Regions from separate parts of the Homo sapiens genome. Here regions 2, 3 and 4 are each linked to region 1. Evidence: promoter capture Hi-C in human tissues and cell types (Jung and others, 2019). All regions are on one chromosome and are shown on one strand. Each heading gives the region's core, a stretch centred on a gene start or on the middle of the fragment in contact. The rest is flanking DNA. Distances are from core to core; before and after follow the strand shown.

Evidence for each region. The method cuts DNA at HindIII sites, captures the fragments that hold promoters and counts their contacts. A contact is called where the count stands out against the background at its distance.
Region 2: a contact is called between a fragment that was not itself captured here and the fragment with the promoter of FZD4 in region 1, in 2 of the 25 tissues and cell types used here (heart left ventricle and neural progenitor cells).
Region 3: a contact is called between a fragment that was not itself captured here and the fragment with the promoter of FZD4 in region 1, in 6 of the 25 tissues and cell types used here (H1 embryonic stem cells, dorsolateral prefrontal cortex, liver and 3 more).
Region 4: a fragment that was not itself captured here is called in contact with the fragment with the promoter of FZD4 in region 1 in 6 of the 25 tissues and cell types used here (adrenal gland, aorta, bladder and 3 more).

Annotation. Positions count from the first base shown.
Region 1 is chr11:86,953,878-86,957,161 of GRCh38, reverse strand. It overlaps FZD4 (frizzled class receptor 4), which reads left to right and starts at 1,767. Exons shown (of 2, transcript NM_012193.4): 1 at 1,767-2,361. The coding sequence starts at 2,077. It overlaps FZD4-DT (FZD4 divergent transcript), which reads right to left and starts at 1,541. Exons shown (of 3, transcript NR_038905.1): 1 at 1,450-1,541. RefSeq lists silencers at 1,040-1,189, 1,540-1,909, 2,040-2,089. The HindIII fragment of the contact is 8,131 bases long and covers 1-3,284 here.
Region 2 is chr11:87,074,925-87,078,208 of GRCh38, reverse strand. All of the region lies in intron 3 of TMEM135 (transmembrane protein 135), which reads right to left. Among named protein-coding and RNA genes, the nearest start is that of TMEM135, 39 kb to the right of the region's middle. The HindIII fragment of the contact is 5,757 bases long and covers 1-3,284 here.
Region 3 is chr11:87,057,187-87,060,470 of GRCh38, reverse strand. All of the region lies in intron 1 of TMEM135 (transmembrane protein 135), which reads right to left. Among named protein-coding and RNA genes, the nearest start is that of TMEM135, 21 kb to the right of the region's middle. The HindIII fragment of the contact is 7,883 bases long and covers 1-3,284 here.
Region 4 is chr11:87,036,136-87,039,419 of GRCh38, reverse strand. TMEM135 (transmembrane protein 135) reads right to left here and starts at 1,486. Exons shown (of 15, transcript NM_022918.4): 1 at 1,234-1,486. The coding sequence starts at 1,374. It overlaps LOC105369422 (a long non-coding RNA gene), which reads left to right and starts at 1,625. Exons shown (of 5, transcript XR_007062827.1): 1 at 1,625-1,796. RefSeq lists a silencer at 1,465-1,854 and an enhancer at 1,511-2,011. The HindIII fragment of the contact is 9,814 bases long and covers 1-3,284 here.

The DNA.
Region 1 (3,284 bases), core at 518-3,017:
GCAGCTTCTCCGTGTCCAACACAGTTCTAGGCACAGAGCCAAATACCAAAAAAAAGTTGATTCCATTTTTGCCCTCAGTCAAGTCTCGTTGCCAATATAAGAAGACTAAAAATACAAGACAGAATATGAGTGTCACATGAGTGGCACAGACATTCTTCCAACTTGCATCTAGCCTCTGCCATATGCCACAGAATTGGCTGAAATGGGAGGATAAAAACATGCATAAAACAGTGGCAAGTGTTGGACAAAAAGATCTCAGGAAGAGGGTGAAAAGCCTTTTACCCAGATCCTCATTCCGGGGCTGCTGGAGCTGTCTTTAGCACCAGGCTGGAAAGCAGGAGGCTGTCCCATAATTGATCTCCCCTAGCTGTTTTGGAAACACATACACACACACACACACACACACACACACACACACACACCCCAATCACCAAGTTCTTCAGCATTTATTATGTGTCAGACACTGCTAAATGATTTACAGGTATTATCTCACTGAACTCTTAGAACAACTGTGTGAGGTGGATATGAACTTCCCCACTTTACAGCCGGCCACTTTGAGGCTCAGAGAGGCACCATAGCTTCAACACAGTCAAGCAACAAGTAAACGGTGGAGGAATCCACCTGCTGGGAGTTTACTGGCCGACTGGAAAGCAGAGAGAGGGTGGACCAGCACAAAGCCGCGGGGGGCTGGTAATGAGACAGGAAAGTTGGGTTCAAACCTGGGTCACATGATCCCCAGATCCCTAGGAGCCGAAGCAGAAGCAAAGAAAAAAAGGGGTGCAGCCTGGTGGGGAGGGGGTGCCCGGGAGGCCGGGAGAGAGGAGTCACGGTGGTTGTGCGCCTTCCTCGTCCCCAGTGCACAGGTCAAGCCTCTCCCCTCCCGCCCTCTCACCCTCCCAACCTTATTTAGAAACCGTGTCCCCGAGACAGGAAGGGCGGCGGGCCGAGAAGCACGGAGAGTCCCGGTCTCATTTCCTTTCGAATCCCCCTGTGGAATTTCATTTCATACGGTGAGGAAATCAGAGCGCGAGACCGTCGGCGGGTCTGCAGCTCCGCAGCTCTGGGGCGCCTCCCCGCTGGCGGCTGGAGGTGGGCGGCTCCCTGCGCAGGTCGGGCGAGTCTGGGGGCGGGGAGAGGCCGGGCCCCGATCGCCGCTGGTCCGGAGTGAAAATAGCTGTGGACTCACGCAGTACCAGGCACCATGCTAAGCCTTCTACACTTTATCTCTAATCCTCCCAAGTGACTTTACAGAGGAGACTGACGCCGAGGGGTTGAGCAATTTGCTCAAGGTCACACAACCGGGACTGAAAGCCACAATCGGTGTAAATCCAAATCCCCAATTCTTTGTGTACGTTTCTCTGCCTGACGGGGAGGTGGCCACCGGCCTAGGTTACAGCTGAAAGGAGACAGGAAGGAAAGGGGGCAGATGGAACAGGGCGCACTTCTCACCTGCAGAAGGGGGCAGGACGGCGTGGCTGGAGCCACTGGGCTGCGTCCCTGCTTGGCCCCTGCGCGCCTAGATCCGGGTGGGAGGAAAGCAAGAGCCGGGAGGCGGGCGGGGCGGGGCGCTAGGGGAGGGAGGGAGGGAGGGGCGGCCGGAGGAGGGGGCCGGAGGGCGGGGGCCTGACTCCTCCTGCGGGAGAGCGGCCCCGCCCCGCCGCCTCGCCCCTAGCTGCCCACCGCGCCCGGCCATTGGAGAGGCCCGCTGTCCGTCCCGCCCCGCCGCCGCGCCGCGAGCCTCCAGCGCCGCGCAGGGCTCCGGCGGTGAGAGCTGCGCAGCGCTGGCTGCTGGCTGGCCTCGCGGAGACGCCGAACGGACGCGGCCGGCGCCGGCTTGTGGGCTCGCCGCCTGCAGCCATGACCCTCGCAGCCTGTCCCTCGGCCTCGGCCCGGGACGTCTAAAATCCCACACAGTCGCGCGCAGCTGCTGGAGAGCCGGCCGCTGCCCCCTCGTCGCCGCATCACACTCCCGTCCCGGGAGCTGGGAGCAGCGCGGGCAGCCGGCGCCCCCGTGCAAACTGGGGGTGTCTGCCAGAGCAGCCCCAGCCGCTGCCGCTGCTACCCCCGATGCTGGCCATGGCCTGGCGGGGCGCAGGGCCGAGCGTCCCGGGGGCGCCCGGGGGCGTCGGTCTCAGTCTGGGGTTGCTCCTGCAGTTGCTGCTGCTCCTGGGGCCGGCGCGGGGCTTCGGGGACGAGGAAGAGCGGCGCTGCGACCCCATCCGCATCTCCATGTGCCAGAACCTCGGCTACAACGTGACCAAGATGCCCAACCTGGTTGGGCACGAGCTGCAGACGGACGCCGAGCTGCAGCTGACAACTTTCACACCGCTCATCCAGTACGGCTGCTCCAGCCAGCTGCAGGTGGGCGCCCCCACCCCCACCCCTGGCGGGACCCCTTGGGGAGGGACGCTCCAAACTAACTTTGCAGAGCCCATGCCAAGTTGATCATCCTAGCCCGAAGGAGACAGCTCTCCTGGAAAAGTGATTTCCATCCCCACCCCCACTTTCTCAGGGACTGGAAGCCAAAACGTTGTGTAAGTCATCTGGCCTGGGAAAGAACCCACTCTTACACCCCGCCCTTCCGTTTTTCTCTCTTGCCCACCCATGTCTGGCCCAGACCCCTAACCCCAGTGGAGCTGAGGGTTATCTCTGCCAAGGATTCTGGCCGCCACTGCTCGGTGGGCGAGTGGGAGGGAGCCAGCTGCAGCTAAGACTTGGAGGGAGTGATAAGGAGACCATCCTTCACCGAACTTCCTTCTCCCCACTATTTTTGGGGTGTTATTAAATGAAACACTACTGCACCTTTTTCTGCTGAATAGCCCCTTCTCACGACGTCCCGCAGCGTTTTAGAGGTCATGCATGAAGGAGTGGTTGGGTTGGCTTGAGTTCTTTCTTATCCTCACAGTTGAAGGCACGTTTAATGCTTGGAGGGTGAGAAGAAGCTGCAGGAAGGTGGTTGGTATATTGGAAGAAATTTTTTTGCAGTCATTAAAAAATGTAAAGCATATCTAATGATAGAGAAAATGTTTATTCCACAGTAATAAGAATTTGCATATACAGGGTGATTATAATCCTGCAAAATAAAAAATTTATTGGGATAATAAAAGACTGACAGGAAAATTTTTAAAGTGTTAACATTGGTTATGTTTGGGTTGGTGAGGCTGGGTGATTTTTAGAAATTTAGAAAAGAGAGAAGTTGTGGGAAAAAGTAGACGTTAGTTGTCCAGGCTTCAGAAATCTGGTTTCTGGCCGGGCGCAGTGGCTCACGCCTGTAATCCCAGCAC
Region 2 (3,284 bases), core at 327-2,826, 120 kb before region 1:
TTATATACTGCTGAACAAAACAGAAAATGGTACAACCACTTTGGTAAACAGTTTGGCAGTTCCTCAAAAAGCTAAACAGAGTTGCCATATTAAGGCAGCAATTCCATTCCTGAGTACATAATCCAGAAAAATAAAAACATATGTCCACACAAAAATGTGTCCACAAATGTTTAGTGTAGCAACATTCATAACCAAGAAGTGGGACAATCCAAATTTCCATCAACTTATGAATAAATAAAATGTGACATATCCATATAATGAATTATTTGGCAATAAAAAGTAATGTAATGAAATGATACGTATGACATCAAACTTCAAAACCATTACACTAAGTAAAAGAAGCCAGTCACCAATGACACATATTGTATGACTCCATTATATAAAATGTCCAGAAGAAGCAAATCTTTAGAGACAGAAATTAGTGGTTGCCTAGGGCTGGGTGAGGAGGATGAAGGATTAGGGGGTGACAGTTAAAGGGGTTTCTATTTGAGGTGAATAAAGTGTTCTAAAATTGTTTGTGATGGTAGTTAAACAACTTTGTGAATATATTAAAAACAAATGAATTGTGCAGTTTTCAAAAGGGTGAACTGTATGGAATATGAATTATGACTCAATAAAGCTATTACAAAAACAGAAAAATCATTTGCAATTGTTCCCAAAAAGGGAAACAGGTGTAAATCTAACACGTATATGAAACGCATTCTGCAAATTATAAAAACTGATGAAAAGAAATAAAAGATCTAATTAAATGGAGAGATAAACCATGTCCATGGATGGAGCAGCCAAAAACTGAAAATAACATAAATGTCCTTCGACAAGTGAATGTTTAACAAACTCTGGTACATCCATATAGTAGAATGCTACTGGGCAATAAAAAAGGAATAAGCTTAGTAATACAAGCTACATCTTAGATGGATCTCAAAGGCATCATGCTTAGTTTAAAAAAGAAAAAGCCTATGTCCAAACGTTATACATTGCATCATTCCATTTATATAACTTCCTCGAAATGATATAAATATAGAAATGAAAAGTAGACTAGTTGTTACCAGGAGACAGGAATTGATGAAAATGGTGCAACTACAAAGGGATAGTTCAAGGGCAATCCTTGGTAGTGTTGAAACAGTTTTGGACATTGATTGTAGTGGTGGGTAAACAACTCTATACATGGGAACAAACTGCATAGACATGTACACAAATGAGTATACATAAGAATTAGTGAATACTGAATGAAGTCTATAGTGTAGTTGACAGTAATGTCAACTTCCTGGTTTTATATTATACTACAGTTAAATAAGATGTCATCACTGGATACCAGCTCAGCCACAGTAGGAGAAGAGACCAGGCAGAGTCATGAAGGATCCATTCCAAGCCTTGCTCCTGGATGACATTTCTAGACATACCTTGGGCCAAAAGGGAACCTGCTGCCTTGAAGGAAAGCACCCAGTACTGGCAGGATTCATCACCTGCAGACTAACAAGCCCTTAGACCCTGAATAATTAGGAGCGATACCCAAGGAGTATGCCGTAGCCTTGGGCTCTGAGACATGCCCACTACAGATGTGACCTAGCACATTCCCAGCTGTGGCTGGCTATGGCAAAAGACTCCTTCTGTCTGAGAAAAGCAGAAGGAAAACAAAAGGGAACTTTGTCTTGCACGTAGGTACCAGCTTGGACACAGTGGGGTAAAGCAACAAGCAGGCTCCTGGAGTCCCCAAGTCCAGGTCTAGGCTCTTGGACAGCATTTCTGAACCTACCCTAGGCCAGAGGGGGGGCCTACTGCCCTGAAGGGTGAGTCCCAGGCCTGGCAGCATTTACTACAGGCTGACTGAAGAGCCTGTGGTATTTAAGTGAACATCAGCAGTGGCCAGTCAGAAGCCTGCCATGGGCTGGTGGTGGTGGTGCCCACATGGAGAGGCTCCTCTGCCTGTGGAAAGGGGAGGGAAGAGTGGGAAGGACTTTATATTGTGGTTTGAGCACCAGTTTAGCCACAGTGGAAAAGAATATCAGGCAAACTTTTCTTACTCCTATCCCTGGCTCCCAGACAATATCTTTGGACCTGCCCAGGGCCCGGGAGAACTTGTCACCCAGAGGGAAGGACAAAACCTGGCTGGCTTTGCCACCTGTTGATTATAGAGCCCTAGGGCTTTGAGTGAACACAAGTGGTAGCCAAGTAATGGTTACAGCAAGCCTTGGGCAAGACCCACTGCTGTGCTAGCTTCAAGTCTGACCCAGCGCAGTCCCAGGGATGGTAGCCACAGGGATGCTTGTGTCACCTCATGCTCAGTTCCAAGCAGTTCAGCACACAGAGAGAGAGAGAGAGACCCTGTTTATTTAGGAGAAAGTAAGGGAAAAGAACAAGAATCTCTGCTTTAATCCAGAGATTTCTTCTGGATCTTATACAAGACCACCAAGGCAGTACGTACCTCTACACGTCAGCAAAAACCATAATGATATTGGGCTTGGGACCCAATTGTTGAACCAATTCACCAATTCCATGAAGAAATAACTCAGACAAATCAGAAATGTATTACATACAACGAGACAACTGGCCTGGTCACTTCAATAAAGCAATGCTGTAGAGGGAAAAAGTGGAGACACTATCTTAGATTAAAAGAAAATAGGCCAAGTGCAGTGGTTCACATCTGTAATCCCAACAGTTTCAGTGGCCAAGGCAGGAGGATCACTTGAGCTCAGGACCGGCCCAGCCTGGGCTACACAGTGAGACCTCAGCTACTTAATATAAAAATAAAAAATTGGACCGGGTGCAGTGGCGAACGCCTGTAATCCCAACACTCTGGGAGGCTGAGGCGGGCAGATCACGAGGTCCGGAGATCGAAACCATCCTGGTTAACACTGTGAAATCCCGTCTCTACTAAAAATACAAAAAAAAAAATTAGCTGGCGGGCACCTATAGTCCCAGCTACTCGGCAGGCTGAGGCAAGAGAATGGCGTGAACCCGGGAGGCGGAGCTTGCAGTGAACAGAGATGGCGCCACCGCACTCCAGCCTGGGAGACAGAGCGAGACTCCGTCTCAAAAAAAATAAACTAATTAAATTAAAAAATAAAAAATAAAAAATTAGCTGAGCATAGTGGTGTGCACCTGTAGTCCCAGCTACTGGTCGGGGGTTGGGGAGGCGGTGGGAGGGTGGTGTTAAGGCAAGAGGATCTCTTAGGCCCGGGAGATTGAGGCTGCAGTGAGCTATGATCACATCACTGCATTCTAGCCTAGGTGACAAAGCAAGACCCTATCTCAAGAAAAAGTACTTTTAGAAAAAGGAAAAGAAA
Region 3 (3,284 bases), core at 371-2,870, 100 kb before region 1:
GTGACTTACTAGCTCCTACAGAAGATCAAGTTGCCTATTCTCAGAGAAAAACACAAAAACATAGGGAAACTACAACTAAGATATAAAAATAACCTGACTCTTCAAAAATTTGGTGATCTAACCTGCAGAAAGACTAAATAAGGCACCCATGATGACTCAGGGGCTAGAAACTACAGTTCCAGTCTACAAAAAAATAAAGAGGAAAGAAGATGGAAAAACAACATTCACAACACTAAATTAGCAAATAAAAAGAATTAATTCCAATAGCAGAGACTGGACAACAACCAGCTGTGCAATTAACTTTACCCTCTTCCTTGTCCAAGATCTATAAGATTTACTTTTTTTCTTTCTTTTTTTTTATTCAGAGTCATGCTCTGTTGCCAAGGCTGGAGTGCAGTGGCGCGATCTCCGCCCACAGCAACCTACACCTCCCGGTTCAAGCGATTCTCCTGCCTCAGCCTCCCAAGCAGCTGAGACCACAGGCATGTGCCACTGCACCCAGCTAATTTTTGTATTTTTAGTAGAGACAGATTTTCACCATTTTATGCAGGCTGGTCTCGAACTCCTGACCTCGTGATCTGTCTGCTTTGGCCTCACAAAGTGCTGGAATTACAGGCGTGAGCCACCACGCCCGGCCCCAAGATCTGTTAATAAGTACTTTTTATAAATAAGATAACAAATATAAAGTATTTAGCAGAGTAACTAGCACATAGTAGGCATTTTGAAAATGCTAGTTTCCTTCACTCTGCAGAATTGCTTCCTGATTCAACCCCAATTCCTTCTTGTGTTGTGCAGTTTTGTTTTATTAAGTGTTAAGAAGAGATTTCCTCTCTGGTAATCAGAGTATCTGGGAAAGGCCAGGTGTGGTAGCTCATGCCTGTAATCCCAGAACTTTGGGAGGCTGAGGCGAGTGGATCACTACAGGTCAGGAGTTCGAGACCAGCTCAGCCAACATGGCAAAACCTTGTCTCTACTAAAAATACAAAAATTAGCCAGGCGTGGTAGCACACGCCTGTAATCCCAGCTACTTGTGAGGCTGAGGCAGGAGAATCACAGGAGAATCGCTTGAATCTGGGAGGCAGAGATTGCAGTGAACCGAGATCACGCCATTGCACTTCAGCCTGGGCAACAGAGCGAGACTCCATCTCAAAAAAAAAAAAAAAGAACTTCAAACAACAGAACTAAAGTAGGATATTCATCCATAATCAAAAGACCTCCTGTATTTTTTTTCTAAAAATTTTTCGGCTGGGCGCGGTGGCTGACGTCAGCACTTTGGGAGGCCGAGGCAGGTGGATCGCCTGAGGTCAGGAGTTCAAGACCAGCCTGCCCAACATGGTGAAGCCCCGTCTCCACAAAAATACAAAAATTAGCCAGTCATGATGGTGGGTGCCTGTAATCCCAGCTACTTGGGAGGCTGAGGCAGGAGAATTGCTTGAACCCAGGAGGTGGAGGTTGCAGTGAGCCAAGATTGCACCACTGTACTCCAGCCTGGGTGACAGAGCGAGACTCTGTCTCAAACAAACAAAAAAATTAAATTAAAATTAAAATTAAAAATAAGACCTTGTTCTCATGCCTGTAATCCCAGCACTTTGGGAGGGTGAGGCAGGCAGATCATGAGGTCAGGAGATGGAGACCATCCTGGCTAACATGATGAAACCCCGTCTCTACTAAAAATACAAAAAAATTAGCCGGGCATGGTGGTGGGCGCCTGTAGTCCCAGCTACTCGGGAGGCTGAGGCAGGACAATGGCATGAACCCAGGAGGTGGGGCTTGCAGTGAGCTGAGATCGCGCCACTGCACTCCAGCCTCGGCAAGAGAGCAAGACTCTGTCAAAAATAAAATAAAATAAAATAAGACCTTGTTTTTAAAAAACAATTTATCATAGGCCAAGGCGGGTGGATCACTTGAGACCAGAAGTTCAAGACCAGTCTGGCCAACATAGCGAAACCCAGTCTCTACTAAAAATACAAAAAATTAGTGGAGTGTGGTGGCACACGCCTGTAATTCTAGCAACTCAGGAGGCTGAGGCAGCAGAATCACTTGAACCCAGGAGACAGAGGTTGCAGCAAGCCAAGATCACGCCACTGCACTCCAGCCTGAGTGACAGAGCAAGACTGTCAAAAAAATAATAATAATAATAATAAAGGAGGCAGAATTATTTGTTGTAACAAACAAATTTTTCTGTATACCATGTTTAATTTTATGTATCAATCTAACTGGGCCAAGGAATGCCTAGACATTTGGTCAAATGATATTCTGGGTATGTCTATGAGGGTGCTTCTAGGTGAGATTAACATTTGAATCAGTAGACTGAGAAAAAGATTGTCCTTCCTAATGTGAGTAGGCTTCATCCTCTCAGTTGAAGACCTGAAGAGAACAAAACAACAAACTCCTCCTGCCTGATTTCTTGAGCTAGGACACTGGTATTTTCCTGCCTTCAGACCTGACTGAAACACCAGTTCTTCTTGGGTCTACAGCCTGCTGGCTTCCAGACTGGAACTTACACCATTGTCCTCTTCTAGTACTCAGGCCTTTGGACTCACACTGGAATTACACATTGGCTCTCTGGGTCTCCAGCATGCCAACTGCAGATCTTGGCATTTATTAAGCCTCCAAAATTGTGAGCCAATTCCTTATTTTATACACACACACAAACACACACACACACACACACAGAGGCTTCTGTTTCTTTGAAGAACTCTAATAAGCTAAATCTGAATTGCTTCCAACGTCTTTATTTTTAAGGTTAGAATCATAAGCTACAAAAGCCAAATATAAATATCTCAAACAAAATAACAAGAAACCAAGTATTATAGACCAATATTTACCTATCTTCTTACAGTTTTTAAAGCTTTTATATGTGCACTATCTCATATGATTCCCACAGCAAGCCACGAAGTTAAGGCAAGATTCTCTTCTACTTATAAATGAAGAAATCGCATCATAAATCGCAAAGCAAAACAAAAACTCAGATCTTGTAACTCACAACCAGTGCATTACACCATGCTGCCCCCAACAGATACAAGAATCAGCTTATTAAAAACAAAACAAGAAAGCCAAAAAACTAGGGCAACTTGTTAATAATATATGTGGGAAGATACAAGCAATCTTCAAAAGTTTTCCGTAATGATGATACTGTAAAGCCTCCCTGTAATGAAAATCATACCATTCAAACTTTAGCGATGACCATTAAGCCTTACATACCTTACCTGTAATAGCCTTCCTCTCCTACATTTTCAAATTTTTATATAAAAGTTGAGATAGGCTTTCAAGATAAAAATAAA
Region 4 (3,284 bases), core at 463-2,962, 82 kb before region 1:
CATCAGCATTACCACGAGTTTGTTAGGAAAGCAGAGGTTCAGGCCCCACCAGGACCTAATGAATTAGAACCCCCATTTTAACATAATCCTCAGAGGATTCCTAACATACATGAAAATGTGAGAAGCATCAGTCTATACAATAAAAATGAAATGGGTGCCTGCAACCTCAAACAAAGTCATCACCTTCTCCTGTGTTATCTCTGAAATACATAATCAGACTTTTCAAGAAGTACTACAGATACAGCCATGACACACTTTCAGGAACATTAGGGTATAAATCTAAATTACTTCAATGAGAAATAATAATTGATCATCTGCTGAATATTGAAACTTTTAGAAGACATACAAAAAATATGATCTGTCTTCTTAGGACACAAACTGTAAGGCAAGAAAATGAGACAATGCACTTCAATGGCCAAAGTAATAATAAATCTTTAATATCAAGGATAAGATTATTGAAAAAAAGATTTTGCGGAGAACATTTAAGAGCATCTTTAATAGTCCTCAGTGTTACATATACATACTGCCAAATATTCCCTATTAATTGCCCTGTATGTAAAGTTGTGTAACAGAAGGTCCTAGGTGACACAAAGTCAGATGTCCTAACCAAGTTCACTGACTGAAAGACTGGCATCACCCTTTAAATCACCACACACAATCTCAACCCAGGAGTCTGTTCTGTGAACTTGCAAAAACACTTGCAAAACCCCCAAATCACAATCCTGTCATCTCAAAACTGAGTCAAGATCTGAGGCCACAGGGACTTAGGGCCAAATATGCCTTCTTCATTAAAAAAAAAAAAAAAAAAAAGCAAAATAAAACAGGGGAAACTAGATGAGGAAAGATTGCAGGTCCTTCTCATAGCCTCGCTGACCTACAAATACCTCTCCATCACAAGGCAGGCCAGAGGAAAATAAGGCTGGTCTTTGAATTAACGTTTTTAAGTGTCCTAAACTTAATTCTAAAAGTTGGGAGCCATCCTCTTCCTAGCAACAGGCATTCAGATGACAGCTCAATCTCTAATTCCCCTCCTCCTTCTCCCTTGCAGGAATTGGTATATCCTTCCCTTGCGACCTCCCCCTTCCCCCTACCGACCCCCCAAAACACTCCGACCCCTCCAAAAGAGAGCCCGACACAAGGCAAGTCCCCCAGAGCCCCTCGGGAGCACCAACTGCAGCCCCCGGCCCATCTTCCAGACTAAACTCGCCCTGCGGGACGGGTGACGGGTCTCACCAAGTACAGAGGAGCATAGATCTTCAGGGACTCCTCCAGGGCGCCCCCGGTGATCTGCAGGAAGGAGACCCGGCAGGAAGGGTGCCAAGTGTGGCCGATCTCATAGCAGTTATGAGGGATGGACTTGCTGAGGGCCGCCATGACGAGGAACAGCGCGGAGAAGACAGGAGGGGGAGAGCCTGAGCCCTGCAGGGAGGGGCGCGAGAGCCCAGCCGCCAGCCTCTCGCCCGGCCAGCACTCGGAGGTGCGGAATGGAGGGGAAAGGTCACGAGAGCGGGGTTACTCTGGGCCAAAGTCCTCGGATGTTGAGCGCTCGGCGTATCGCAGCTCAAGGGGGCGGGACGCGCACCGGGGAGGCGGGGAGAGGCGGCGCGTGCGCGCTCCCTCAAGAGGGCATCCGCTGGGGCGCGTTCCCGCGCGGCGGCGCGGCTGGGTGAGCGGAGGCAGAGAGGATCTTCGCACCCAGAGCCGAGGCTGTACGCGAGGGAGCGCAGCTCGGGGACGAGCCGCCTCCCCACCCCCGCGACGCCGTGCCCGGCTCCGGGGCGCAAGCGCTATGGCAGGTGCGCAGTAGGGGGTGGCTTGGGTCAAATTGTACTTCAGCTTCCAACTGCAAGCCAAGTAGAGCGGAGGGTAGTGGAAGAAAGGGATTAAATGTCTTTGTTGGGAGCTGGTGGAGGAAGAGGGTTGCCAGAGGAATGCCTGGGACAAACGTCCTCCCCAGCACCGGGAGCTTGCCTTCCCGAGAGTCCCAGGTAATAAACAGCTAGGGCTGCCTGCTAGTTGCAACTAACTACCCCCAAGTGCTGGGCTTTCCAAGCTCTGTGATACCTGCGAAGGCTTGAAAAGTCTCAGCTATGTTCATACCCCGACCGTGTGTGGGGAAGGGCAATAGGTCATCCTGTCCAAACCTTAGGCCACGGAGCAATCCTGTCTACAGCATCTTTGATAGGTGCTTATCAACCAAACAGCACACACAGTAGAGGCGGCAGTCGTGTGTTAGAACTCAGACCTGGCTAGGGAACTTGGCCAACAATTAGCAAGACAAGGGTCCTGTGTTGCTTGAGTCATATAACCCCTCTGTCAATCTCCTCACATGTAACAAACCTGCCAGTTTCTTTGGATTTCTAAATTCCATAGTCTCTTAAAGCAGAAACGAACTACCTTTAGAAGAATTCCATTCGAATCTTCTAGTCTTCATTCATTCATCTACAAATATTTACTGAGTCATTACTATTTACCAGGCACTGTGCTAAGGAAACAAACAGAAACAAGAGAGACAAGATTTTTATTTTCACGAAGCTAGTATTCTAGAGGGAGAAGACAGAAAATAACAAAGAAAACTGAACAAGATAATATCAGATAGGTGTAGTTGTTTGAAGAAAATAAAAGAGAAATACTCAGATGAAAAGTCCAAAACAACAATGGCAAAAAGATAAAAGTATCTTTCTCTCAGGTAAAGGTAGGCAGTCCTAGAATAAAATGGTGGCTCCATAACGATTAGGGATCCCAGCCTCTTTGTGACAGTTTGCTATGCCATCTGCTACCTGTGATTTCCACCCTAACTTAGAAAATAACATGACATCAACATGCTAGCCAGGAAGACCAGCAAAAGGGGAAGAGAGGCCGGGCGCGGTGGCTCACACCTGTAATCCTAGTACTTTGAGAGGCTGAGGCGGGTGGATCACTTGAGGTCAGGAGTTTGAGACCAGCCTGGCCAACATGGTGAAACCCTGTCTCTACTAAAAATACAAAAATTTGCCAGAAATGGTGACACGCTCCTGTAATCGTAGCTACTCAGGGACTGAGGCAGGAGAATCGCTTGAACTCAGGAGGCAGAGGTTGCAGTGGGCCAAGATCACACCACTGTTGCCTTGGCAACAGAGAGAGACTCTATCTCAAAAAAAAAAAAAAAAAAAAAACGGGGGGGCGGGGGCGGGGAGAAAAGGGCATACTTCCTGTTTTTAAAAAAACTTCCCAGAAGATCCATACAAACTACTACAACTTACGTTCCTTGGACAAAGCTTAATCACATGGCCACACTTCATTGC